2 separate regions of the Homo sapiens genome follow, and region 2 is linked to region 1. The links are contacts of gene promoters, found by promoter capture Hi-C in blood cells and fetal thymus (Javierre and others, 2016). All regions are on one chromosome and are shown on one strand. Each heading gives the region's core, a stretch centred on a gene start or on the middle of the fragment in contact. The rest is flanking DNA. Distances are from core to core; before and after follow the strand shown.

Evidence for each region. Contacts are between HindIII fragments. The CHiCAGO score rates a contact against its expected background, and 5 or more counts as called.
Region 2: a contact is called between a fragment that was not itself captured here and the fragment with the promoter of TM4SF4 in region 1, in 1 of 17 cell types (endothelial precursors). The highest score is 5.1, in endothelial precursors.

The regions. Positions count from the first base shown.
Region 1 is chr3:149,470,965-149,477,340 of GRCh38, forward strand. TM4SF4 (transmembrane 4 L six family member 4) reads left to right here and starts at 3,733. Exons shown (of 5, transcript NM_004617.4): 1 at 3,733-4,087; 2 at 4,859-4,948. The coding sequence starts at 3,914. The HindIII fragment of the contact is 4,396 bases long and covers 1-4,098 here.
Region 2 is chr3:149,408,701-149,415,076 of GRCh38, forward strand. No RefSeq gene overlaps it. Among named protein-coding and RNA genes, the nearest start is that of TM4SF1-AS1, 34 kb to the left of the region's middle. The HindIII fragment of the contact is 2,040 bases long and covers 2,331-4,370 here.

The DNA.
Region 1 (6,376 bases), core at 2,483-4,982:
TTTAAGATCTGAGGGCCATGGAAGCCTCCTGAAGGCTTTCAGCAAAAATGTAATATCAGTTTAGCATTTATAGAGATCACTAGTTCTCACTTTATAAAGATCACTAACTTTCACTACCTGATTTGATCTTTATTTTTTGATTGAAGACCTATAGTAAGCAAAACATGTTGCATTATTACCTAACATCTATGCACACATAACAAAAATTTCATAAAATGGCTCTTATTACATGCAATGCCCACTAATATTTTCTATTATTTTTTTCCTCCTTTGGAAAATCACTTTTAACAATCTATTTTCATCATCCAGGTAAGCAAAGATGAAGACCTGAATTTTATTTGAATGCAAATGTGTGGAGACCCCTGTCTTCTTCCTGATATTCTGTGTGAATAGATGAGAATGCTCTGCTTTAAGACAAGCAGAAGAAGCCATGTCTTGTTCTTCTGCTAAGGGGCAGTTACTCATTTAACCTCTGTGTATGGCTTCTCTTGTCTCTTGTCACAAGTAGAAGGTTGTAACATCATTGAGGGCAGAAAGCAAGTCTTAGATTTATTTTATTCACAAGGACAGTATTTGGCACATTGGTGGACATACCATGCATGTAACAATACACTTATCGATTGCACTGAATTGACAGCTCTTCACCCATTTCAGGGTGAATGTCTTCTGCTCCTGTGCTTGTTAGCTGAGGAATTGACTTCCTGCATCACTGGAAGGAACCCCTAGACTTCCTGCTGCTTAGTCCCGTATGGTCAAACCTCACATCCGGTGAGGTCCATGGAGATAGTGCCCATATTCACATTCTTCTCCTTTTCTTCCCCCAAGGATCCCTCCTGTCTTTCTATCCCTTCCAGGGCTACTATTTGCTCTCACTTCTGAAGTCTCCATAGAAGGCTAGTGACAGAATGGGGCTTAGTGTCCTCAGCCACTTCCTTCTTGCTGTTTCTGAAAACAAGGGAGTTAGCCTTTTTGGTTTAAAGCCTTCACTGCTAAACACCCAGAGGAACAGAATAAGCAATAAACTATCAAGTAGGAGTATCACAAAAATGATTCCCAGAATCTCACACAATTTTCCCTTGCCCCCAAAGCAGTCTGTTGGTGACCTCCCTGCTACACTTCCAGAGAGTGAATTTCACCAAGGTTCCCATCCCCCCCACGATTCCCTCTCTCCAGATTAGATATTCTACTTCTTGCCTGGAGGTCTGAAGGCACAATTAATAATTGAACAATTAATGAGTTAGTCACTATCCAAGTGTTTGAAGTCTGAAGTGGTCAGGGCATTCCAGGAAAGTGACTGTTTTTCAGTGTTTCTCTTCCTCTACCCAGGAAATAAGTTACCTCAGGCTTGAAAGAAAACTGAAGTGTGGTCCACAATATTTCTTACTTTCATCTAGTCACTCAGACAGTATACATGGGTAACTCCAGTTGTGCATCTGAAAAATCTAGGACAACAGGGCTAGTGTTGGTCAAATGCCATGATGGTAACTTCTAGAAGCAAACGGTGTAGTCCAGGGAGAAAGGAGAAAGCTGCCCAGTCCCCAGAGAGAAGCTGCCTAGCTCTAAGTAGCATATGCATTTGATTAACCCAATCCACTCACCCCCAGGACTGTTGCCTTTAGAGTTCATATGCTCAAGACTCCCTGTCAGAAGCCAGTGGGTTATAAATAAAGTTCATTTGCACCTGCCTGGAGTGTTGGAAAACAGCTGTCAGCACAGTGATGACAGCCCTTGTTTGCTTCTGGTGGAAACACAGCTGGTTTTCTTTTTCTTCCTTTTGCTTGTCTGTATATCCAATTTTTCTACCAAAAAAAGTCACATTATTTTGTAATAAGGAATAAAATCACAGTTTGTTGTTGTGTTCAGAAGGGTCTCCTACTGTGTGCATATACCTCACACACAGTGTCATTCTATTGTTTATATTTAAAAGATGATGTTTTGTTGTTTGTTTGTTTTCAAAAAGGAAAATCTATGAGAGAGAACATAGCCTGGGTTTTGGCAACACAGAGCTGGAGAGGAGGTAGGCTAATGGGTATGAACATACAGTTAGCCAAAGGGATAACCTCTGTTGTTTGACATTACAGTAAAGTGACCATGGTTAGTGATAATGTATTATAGATTGCAAAGTAGCTAGAAGAGAGGACTTAAATTGTTCCCAGCACATAGAAATGATCAATATTCAGTGATGGATACCCCCAAATACCCTGGCTTAATCACTACATATTCTACACATGTAAAATATCACACGTACCCCATAAATGTGTAAAATAGTATGTATAAATAAAAAATAAAATCTTAGCTCTTCTTCTTATGCTGAGATGAGCTTGCAAAAATCACTTTGAGCAGAAGCATCCCCACTTGTGAAGGGGGCATGACACCTTCTTCACAGAAGGGTGAAGAACATTTAAGGTGCTCATTCGTGCTTGGAGTATTATGCATGGCTCAATAAACATTTGCTGTTTTTCTGCTTTCTTTCTCATCCTGACCCTGAGATTTCTAAGTATCTTTATAAAGCAACCAGTACTCATTTCTTAGAAATTTTAGAAGGAGCCTCAACATTTTTCCAGTCTGACTTTTCTGGAATCCTTCCCACAGCTTCCCTTTCCAAGGGCCTCTGAGCCTTGGCAAAGCCCAGTCCATGGCTTCCTTGTGAGCAGGTGGCCTATTCCACGGTAGGACAGGTCTTACCATGGTAATAATGTCACTTGCTTTTTATTTAGCTAAAATTTGACTCCCTAAAATATTCGACCTATTTTAACCTCTAGATTCTCAATGAAGAACTAGTAAGACTTCCAGTTCCACCTCTTAATCCTTCAGCTGTTATGTAATACCAGTACCAGGCAGGGCCATCGCATAATGTAGAGCTTGGTCCAGGCGTGGCAGAGAACTTCTTAAGTGACACAAAGCAAATGAATGAATCATGCCCCTGGCAGTTGGCAAACTTTCTAATAGGGGTGTGTTTTACTGCCTCCTGCACTCTATAACTGCTCTTCCAACTGTGTCTTCTCCCCAGTCAACTCATCAGGACCTTTTCTCTCCCTCTCTACCAATGCTGACCTTCCTTTCCCCTTAGCCTTAGTGGATGATGGTTTCTTTATTCCTATATGGAAGACATAGCTGAGAAAGTTGATTAGGAAAACTGTTTTTGCTAATTCCATCACATCGTGTAGGGAAAAGATAGAACTTAATTACTTAATTGCGTAACAAGTAGAGAAACACAGCAATCAGACAATAAAATGAACAGTAGCTTTTTGCCTTAAACAATTCTTTTAAGTCTGAGCTCAATGATACACAACTAGACCATCAAATTATTTTGATATTGAGGAAAACAGAAGCTCTTTTGGATAACCCTGAATTCCAGGCTTTCAGTGGAAAAGACAAAGACACGCACTGTACACCATTAAGTACTTGGGAGACATGATTTTAACCAGGATGTAACTCAATTATATTAGTGATTTATAAAGAGTCTGGAGAAAATATTTCTTTATTTGGGCATGGGCACTGTCAGATTAAAGGTGCAGTGGTTCTAAATGCTGTTTGTTCCAGCCCTGTCTTCGATTGCAACAATGTGAGTGTCTTGTCTGTGCTGGTGGATTATTAACAGAGGTTATTGGTCTCCATGGCAAAACGATTGAATGATTGCTCTGAACGTAATCTCATTTATGGGGGTGCAAAAAACAAAGCACTTCAGGTCAGGGAGAATGTATAAATGTCCATTGCCATCGAGGTTCTGCTATTTTTGAGAAGCTGAAGCAACTCCAAGGACACAGTTCACAGAAATTTGGTTCTCAGCCCCAAAATACTGATTGAATTGGAGACAATTACAAGGACTCTCTGGCCAAAAACCCTTGAAGAGGCCCCGTGAAGGAGGCAGTGAGGAGCTTTTGATTGCTGACCTGTGTCGTACCACCCCAGAATGTGCACTGGGGGCTGTGCCAGATGCCTGGGGGGGACCCTCATTCCCCTTGCTTTTTTTGGCTTCCTGGCTAACATCCTGTTATTTTTTCCTGGAGGAAAAGTGATAGATGACAACGACCACCTTTCCCAAGAGATCTGGTTTTTCGGAGGAATATTAGGAAGCGGTGTCTTGGTGAGTAGGGAAGCTTAAAATCCCCCTAAGGGAGATTTTCCCTTCCCCACAATCCTTTTTAAATCAGGTACTTATTGAACAGGGAGATATTTAGTTGGTAATAGAAGCTCAAGCATTGCATGGTGAGAGGTCAATGCCTTAATTTTTTTCTCGTTTCTGTTAGGATCTGACAAGGACACGTCAGCTAAATTTACTAAGTAATTAATCTCTAAGCTTGGGCTGACAGTTCTCATGGGTCATTTGAGTCCCATGAACCGAAGTGAAGGTCGCATAGTTTCTTGATTCCAACAAGATAGTGCCCAAAACAATAACAACAACAAACCCACGATGCAAACCCACTAGAAAAGCAAATTGACTTAAAACCACCATGAGAAGCTGTTGTCAGTGTGGTCGTCTTCCACTTAGGACCTAATGATTTCTTTACCTCTGGTTTCCAATAGAATTGGGAACCTCCGTTTGAGAGAGTGAAAGGGAGAGAGACTCACTCTTCATGACAATTGAGGAAAAGTTTGTTATTCTTTTTTCTAACACACCATCTAAATGGAAACTCAGATTTTGAAATCTTGCCTCATTGAAGCTGGTTAGTCAGCCCAAATGGAATCTAAGTACTCCATAACACTCCATTACCCCTCCAGCCATGCTCTGTTACTTTGCCATTCCCTTTGGGCCTCCAAATCCCTCATTGTGGATGGGGCTCCTTATACAGTCAGGCAGGCTCGGGCCCTCCCTTCAACTCCTGGACTCTCTCTGAGGTGCCTCTTCTCCTGGTAGATGATCTTCCCTGCGCTGGTGTTCTTGGGCCTGAAGAACAATGACTGCTGTGGGTGCTGCGGCAACGAGGGCTGTGGGAAGCGATTTGCGGTGAGTTACCATGGGGGGCAGCTACTAGAATTACTCCAGGGTGCTCTGTGCTTTTGTGCTGGGCAGCATGGGGATGGAGACAAGTTATCAGCTCCAGCCAGGACTCTGGGAGCAGCTGGTGAAGGGATAAAACTGTGATTTTTCCTGCCAGTGTGAAATAATAATAATTTTCCAAAATACCATAGCCCTCATACTTATAGGGTATGAATATTGTATTAGATTTTACAAACCGACAGGGATGTCAGAACTGGAGATTCAGAGGGGTCCCATATACAGAATGCAAGCCTGGAAGGCAGAGATGAAGCTGCAGCATTCCTCTGCCACTGAGAGGCCATAAGAACTTGGACAAGTCATTTCCCTTTTCTGGCCCTGAATTGCCTCATCTGCAAAGGGGACTTGGGACAGGACAAAAGATGGTATCCTCCCCTCCCCAGTAGGCTTCTAGGTTCCTCACTCACACCACTTCCATGTTCTCTATTTCTGAGGCCCAGCGCCTCTGGCTTCCACCAGGCTCTGCTTCAGGACTTCTGTTTCCTCTCTTGTTTCATGCGGCCATCGATCTTGAACTAGAGACGTTAGGCATCAAAGTTCCAGAGTGCAGTGGAAAGAATGCTGGGACATGGGGACAGGACCCATTCTGCAATTGAGCAAGTCATTCTACTGCTCTGCCTCCCTTTGCTCATGTATAAAGCAGGAAGCTGGACTAGACCAGAATTTCTCAAGTATGGGACAAGCTCTGGTGCTACACAGATGTGCTATATCTTTCCACAACATAGAATGTCATTCCCATTCAATTCTCCTTCAATCCTTTTGAATCTATCAATCTATCAAGAAAAAGATCTTATTTTGGTAGACATAAGTCTTTCTTTTTTCTTTTCTGTTTTTTTTTGTTTTTGTTTTTGTTTTTTTTTTTTTTTTTGAGACAGGGTCTCACTCTGTTTGCCCAGGCTAGATCTTGGCTCACAGCAGGCTTGAACTTCTGGGCTCAAGTGATTCTCCCACCTCAGCCTTCCAAGTAGCTGGGAGTACAAGTGTGCCACCCCACGCAGCTGATTTTTTGTATTTTTAGTAGAGACAGAGTTTGGGCATGTTTCCTAGGCTGGTCTCAAACTCCCGGACTCAAGCAATCCGCCCACCTGAGCCTCCCAAAGTGCTGGGATTACAGGTGTGAGGCACTGTGCCCAGTCGTCTTTACTATTTTTTACCCTTTATAATCTCCCTTTCTAACAAAGAGAGGACAAGTCTTAGGCTCCAGGAATGAATGCAACGTTGTTTAACTAAAATGCAACTATATTGTGTTTCTATCTGCCAATGATTCTAATTTTTCATTCATATAGTGATATAAATGAACACAATGAGAGCTGACAAAAAATATTAAGAGTTAGATATATTGATGAGGCAGAAATGAAGCATAGTAGAACTGGAATT
Region 2 (6,376 bases), core at 2,101-4,600, 63 kb before region 1:
CTGAGATGTATCTCCATGAAGAGAGAGATCTAAGCTTGGGAGCGTGGGAGGAGGGACATTCCAAGTAGAGGGAACAGCCTCCCAGGCCTCTGACGATAGATCAGACCTGGCATATCTGAAGAACTGAAAGAAGACAAGCATGGCAGAGTGTGGTGATGGAGGAGTGGGACAAGATGAGGCTGAAGAGATGGTTAGGACCCTGTTAAACAAGGCCTTGTAGGCTGAATAGGAACCCGGTTTTTTTTCAGAATGCTAAGTCCATCATCACGTTTGTAACGATGCTTTCCTAAAGGTCCTACTCAAGAAGTTAAACAAACTCAAAGTCAATGAATTGTTCTATTTTAAGAATAAAGACGTAAGAGTTCTTTTAATGAGAACTCAGGAGACTTACAGCATCATGCAGCTAAATTCAACCAGTCAAAGTGGGTTGGGGCTAGGGTGATCATATATCCCAGTTTGCTCAGAAGAGTCCCAGTTCACACCTGTGTTTCCAGCATCCTCTTGGTGTGTACCATTTGTCCCAAATACTTCACTTTTTAATGGAGTGTGCTTGTTAGTAGTTGCATTAAAACAAGCCAGAATGGATTGGGCAGACAGCTACTTTATACTTCCAGCTTCTCTCCTTTCATGGTGTTATGGAATAGTGTGTGAGATGTATATATAATGTTGACTTTTCACTTTAACATATGGTAAAATCTGACAGACGCTAACAATAACCCATTTCTCTTTTTTCAGCTCTTTCCAGCAGCAATGTAGCTAATATTTTCTTTTCAGGAGAACCATACAGGACTGTTGCTGATAAAATGAAGTTGGCAGTCATTCCTTGGAGATATCGCAGGTTCAGTTCCAGACCACCACAATAAATTGAATATTGTGATAAGCAAGTCACATAAATTTTCTGGCTTCCTAGTGTATGTAAAAGTTATGTTACATGCCAGGCATGGTGGCATGCACCAGCTACTTGGGAGGCTAAATTGGGGGTATCACTTGAGCCCAGGAGTTTGAGACCAGCCTTGGCAACATAGTGAGACCCTGTCTCTACAAAAAATTTAAAAAATTATTTGCCAGGCATGGTGATGCATTCCGGTAGTCTCAGCTATAGGCTGAGATGGGAGGATTTCTGGGCCCAGGAGGTCAAGGCTACAGTGAGCCATGATCATGCCACTGCACTCCAGCCTGGATGACATAATGAGACCCTGTCTCCAATAATAAAATACCAGTCATCTGAGCCTTCATCGAGTCATAATCCTTTTGCTGGGGGAGGGTCTTCCTACCTGTAAGAAGCAAATCCTCATCTGTTCAAGTTTGATCATGAGATTGAGCCACTTAGTCTCATCTTCAGGCTCTACTTCTAGTTCTAGTTTTCTTGCTATTTCCACCACCTCTGCAGTTACTTCCTGCCTGAAGTCTTGAACCCCTTAAATTCATCCACGAAGGTTGGAATTAACTTCTTCCAAACTCCTGTTAATGTTGATATTTCTACATCCTCCCATGGATCACAAATTTTCTTGATGACATCTAGAATAATGAATTTTTCCCAGAAGGTTTTCAATTTACTTTGCCCAGATCCATCAGGGGAATCACTATATATGACAGTTTATGAAATGTGTTTTTGTATAATAAGACTTGAAAGCCAAAAAATTATTACTTGATCCATATGCTGCAGAATAAATGCTAGACTTTCAGAGGGCAAATGAGAATTGGCTTCATCTTAAAGTCACCAGTTGCATTAGCCCCTAACAAGGGAGTCAGCCTGTCCTTTGAAGCTTTAAAGCCAGGCATAGACTTCTCTTCCTCTCTAGCTACAAAAGCCTTAGAAGATATCTTCTTCCAATGGAAGAAGATCTGTTTTACTTACATTGAAAATCTGTTGTTCATTGTAGCCACCATCATCAATGATCATAGCTAGATCTTCTGGCTAACTGACTGCAGCTTCTACATCAGCACTTGCTGCTTCACCCTGTACTTTTATGTTATGGAGATACAACTTCTTTCCTTAAACCTCATGAATCAACCTCTGCTAGCTTCAAACTTTTCTCATGGAGCTTCATCACGTCTTTCTGCTTTCATAGAATTGAAGAGAGCTGGGGCCTTTCTCTTGATTAAGCTTCGGCTTAAGGGAATGTTGTGGCTGGTTTGATCTTCTATCCATACCACTCCAACTTTCTCCATATCAACGAGAAGGGTGTTTCACTTTCTTATCATTCATGTGTTCCCTGGAAGTAATTTTCTTCAAGAACTTTTCCTTTGCGTTCACAATGTGGCTAAGTTTTTGGCTCAAGAGGCCTAGCTTCTGGCCTGTCTTGGCTTTCCATATGCCTTCGTCACTAAGCTTAATAATTTCTAGCTTTTGCTTTAAAGTGCGATGTGAGACTCTTCCTTTCACCTGAACACTTAGAAACCATTGTAGGGTTATTAATTGGCCCAATTTCAATATTCTTGTGTCCCAGAAAATAGGGTGGCCCAAGGAGAGGGAGAGAGATGGGGAAAGGCTTGTTGGTGGAGCTGTCAGAACACACATAGCATTTATTGATTAAGTTCAATGTCTTATATGGGCATGGTTTGTGGCACCTCAAAACAATTATAATAGTAACATCAAAGATCACTGACCATAGATCACCATGACAGATATAATAATAAGGAAAAAGTTTGAAATACTAATAATAAGGAAAAAGTTAGAATTACTAAAACGTGGCACAGAGACATGATGTGAGCACATGCTGTTGGAAAAATGGCACCAATAGACCAATGCAGGGTTGCCACAAACCTTCAATTTGTAAAAACCATAACACACAGCTCAATAAAGTAAAGCACAACAAAACAAGGTATGCCTGTACTCAGTCATGAGCAGTTAGGGACAGATAACTCCTGGTCTCAGGTAGTGGTAAAAGAGATATTCTATGCTGCTGGCCCTGCCAGACAGTCTATCAGCTTGTGCCACTCTCTATAAATGCACAAAGTCAGCAAGTCACTAAGTTGGTGGAAAACGTGGGAAATTATGGGTTAGGTACATATAAAGTATGTACAGAAGACAGAAGACAAGAAGTCCTGCCATAGAACTTACTGTGTAGTCTGAATGCTGCAATTGTTTTGCCATTTATTGAATTGAATGGCATAAATCCAAATAAATCCATGACTATTTTGTTGTTCTGCAATGCTTTTTTATTTTACAATAAACCCTTTCAATAGCAGTGACCTCAAGGAAATGAAAACATGAGTTTAGTACAAAATCAAGTACAGAATTGCCATTTCTCAAGAAAGTAAATGATTAAAGTGAAACTTGCACAAAATGTAGACATTTGCCATCCACCGTGGGACCCATTGTGATATCACTGACCACTTGAAAACAAGGAAATACAAATCTGCTGAAAAATCATCAGGGTCTACTTCGAAAGTTAATGGTAAATTTAAGAAGACGCATGTTGAATGTGACAACAGTTGAGCAGGTGCAGCTTCAGAAGGTGCATTTATACAACCTCTTTTAAAGCATAACTTTTCATTTAGGTTAAATGATCGTTTATCTATTTTAATTTTGTTCTTTTAAAATCCCGTTTCCTCATGTACATACACTTGTAAAGTGTTAGTGAAAAATGATAGCGGATAATTAGCATAAGAAGAACTTGCCAAAATGGCCTCAATTTTGTATCAATGTCATCTGGTGATTCAAGTAAAAATCTAGTTAACTCTGATGACAGTTGAAGGCTCTCATCCAATTCAGGGAATCAAAGTAAAACTTTTAGGATTTTCTTTTGTTGAAAGTGAAACATCTGAGATTATTGCGAATGCTATTGTAAATTCTGTTACAGAGTACAGCATTGAGGATTAAATGATTTGTTTTTGCATCCATAATATGCTTACAAATTCTGGCGATGTACACCATTGTGGAAAAAATAATGCTCTTACTAAATTAAACTTGTAGAGCAAAAATGTACTTGGAATTGATTGCCATGCACATGACTCATAATTGGGTTAAACAAGCTATGATATTCTACCAATTGACATAGAAGCTGTATTGCCAAAACTCACAAACATTTTTACATATACGCAGATAAAATAACTGAACTACATAGTTTTCATGGTGATACTGATATTGAAGAAAGAAAATACTTGGGTATAGCAACATGTGAACCCACTCTTTGCTGTTCATCATTAATTAGATTTTAGAAACATTTGAGTCCTTGAAAAACAAATTTGTAACACAACATAAGTATCTTATATTGGCATTGACATTTTTTGGTAAATGTGTCCTTTAAATTTTGGTTGCATTTCATTCAAAATCAGCTGGAAATCTTCAATCAAGGTATCAAATGAGTAGAGCACCCCAAAACTTCAGCTTTTAAATTTTGGCAAACTGCAATTATCGAAGGCAAAGCTTATGAACAAGAAGATATTAAAATTAAGCAATACAAAAGCATGGGAGGAACTGAACAAAACAATAAATGACAGTTTAAATGGTTTATAAGATTTAGTTTTAAAGCTTCATGATTGTGCTCTGGGCTATTTTAAGTTATATAAAAAATGTTTGGTAGACCTCTCATTTTTAGTTGCATAAGTTTCTATTCTGTACTAGAATAAAATGAAATGGAAAGGACCTGTATTTTTGCAGTATCTATATTTGTTCAAACACTCAAATAATCATATTATAGAGAACTTTTAAATAATTTTTCCCTTTTTAAAAATGTTTGTCAAAGGTACCAAGCTGATAGTCAAAAGAGGCAAAAATGACAGTATTTATAAAAATATTTGGACTGAAATATTTATATATATTTCAATACAAAAAATAAAATTAGGGTTAAAACTCTTCTGTTTATAATTTTCTCTGTACTTAGCAAGTATTATGTAGACCTTACATTTAATTATTATTACTATTATTATTATTATTATTATTGAGATGGAGTTTCACTCTGTCACCCAGGCTGGAGTGCAATGGCACCATCTCGGCTCACTGCAACCTCTGTCTCCCAAGTTCAAGCAATTCTGCCTCAGCCTCCTGAGTAGCTGGGATTACAGGCACCCCCTACCATACCCAGCTAATTTTTTGTATTTTTAGTAGAGACGGGGTTTCATCATGTTGGCCAGGCTGGTCTTGAACTCCTGACCTCAAGGATCCTCCTGCCTTAGCCTTCCAAAGTGCTGGGATTACAGGCATGAACCACTGCTCCCAGCTGTAAATTTTAAAAATTTGATATATAACTACAGAAAAAAGGTGCTAATGGTTTCAAATTAATTAATTATAAGATACAAATTTGAAGGCTATTTCAGATAATTTTATGAAAAATTAAAAATAAAAAGAACTTATTGAAAAAGAATATATACAGTCTTCAGAAAAAACATACACTGTGATATGGTATTAGAGACAAGGTATATCTAGGAAATACAGTGAAGTATGTTACTGCATACCAAGAATAATTATTCTTATGTGATTAATTTTCAAAGGATCGATATGAGTAAGTCTTTTTACATTTTGCCTTAGTAAATATGAATATGTTATTTTTATTTTTGGAAGCAATTTTATTTATAAAAATAGTTTTTGAATAGAACTATTATATCTTATAAGTTCAATAATAATGAAACTAATTTTTCATTCAACAAATATTTTTAAAACTATATAGTTTTAATTATTTTTCACAATCCCTTTTATTTTTAGAAGTGTCCTGGTCTGTATGATAAATTATATAGTCACCTTTGTTAGGGCAGTGTCACCTTGAAGAAGCGAATCTAAGGCACAGGGCCTGAAATTTCTGGGTGCCCAAGCCAGCTGGGAGCCCCTCTGAAGAAGTTAAGCCTCAGAAGTACAAATGCTCAGCTCCTACCTGTACTGAGGTTGTCTGCATTTAAAACATTTGCTGACTAAAGATTTCCTTGGTGCACAGCTCTATCATGAGAAGAGGTGGATAAATACTCATCTCATGCTCCCTCAGACTTGATTCTCAATCTACAGTTTGTGTAGGTCACACAACCCTGAGCGCCTCATCAATTGAAGAGCAGGTGTTGGACAGGTCTGCCCTTCCTGTGTGGGTGCTTCTGTGGAAGGCAAGGAGAATGGGAGGAAGTAGGCCAATGAAAAACAGGCAAGAGTCCCTTGAAAACCCTGCCTTGAAAACTTGGGCCAAAAAGAAAGAGCATGAGGGCCAAATAGAAGGGAAAAAAAAACCATGGGAACTTGATCTTTGCTGATGGTTTTTGAGTTTAGTTTGAAAGTGATTGAGGAGGGGAAGGGGAAATTCACAGTTTTGCTCAGAAGCCATTTGACTTCAAAGGTCTTGCTACACAAATCACATATGACTCCAATGCTTTCTCAACTACAAAAAGTCAGAAGGTCTTTCACTGAATGGAATGGTATGTCCTGCTCCACCCTGAAATAGCAGAGTTCAAG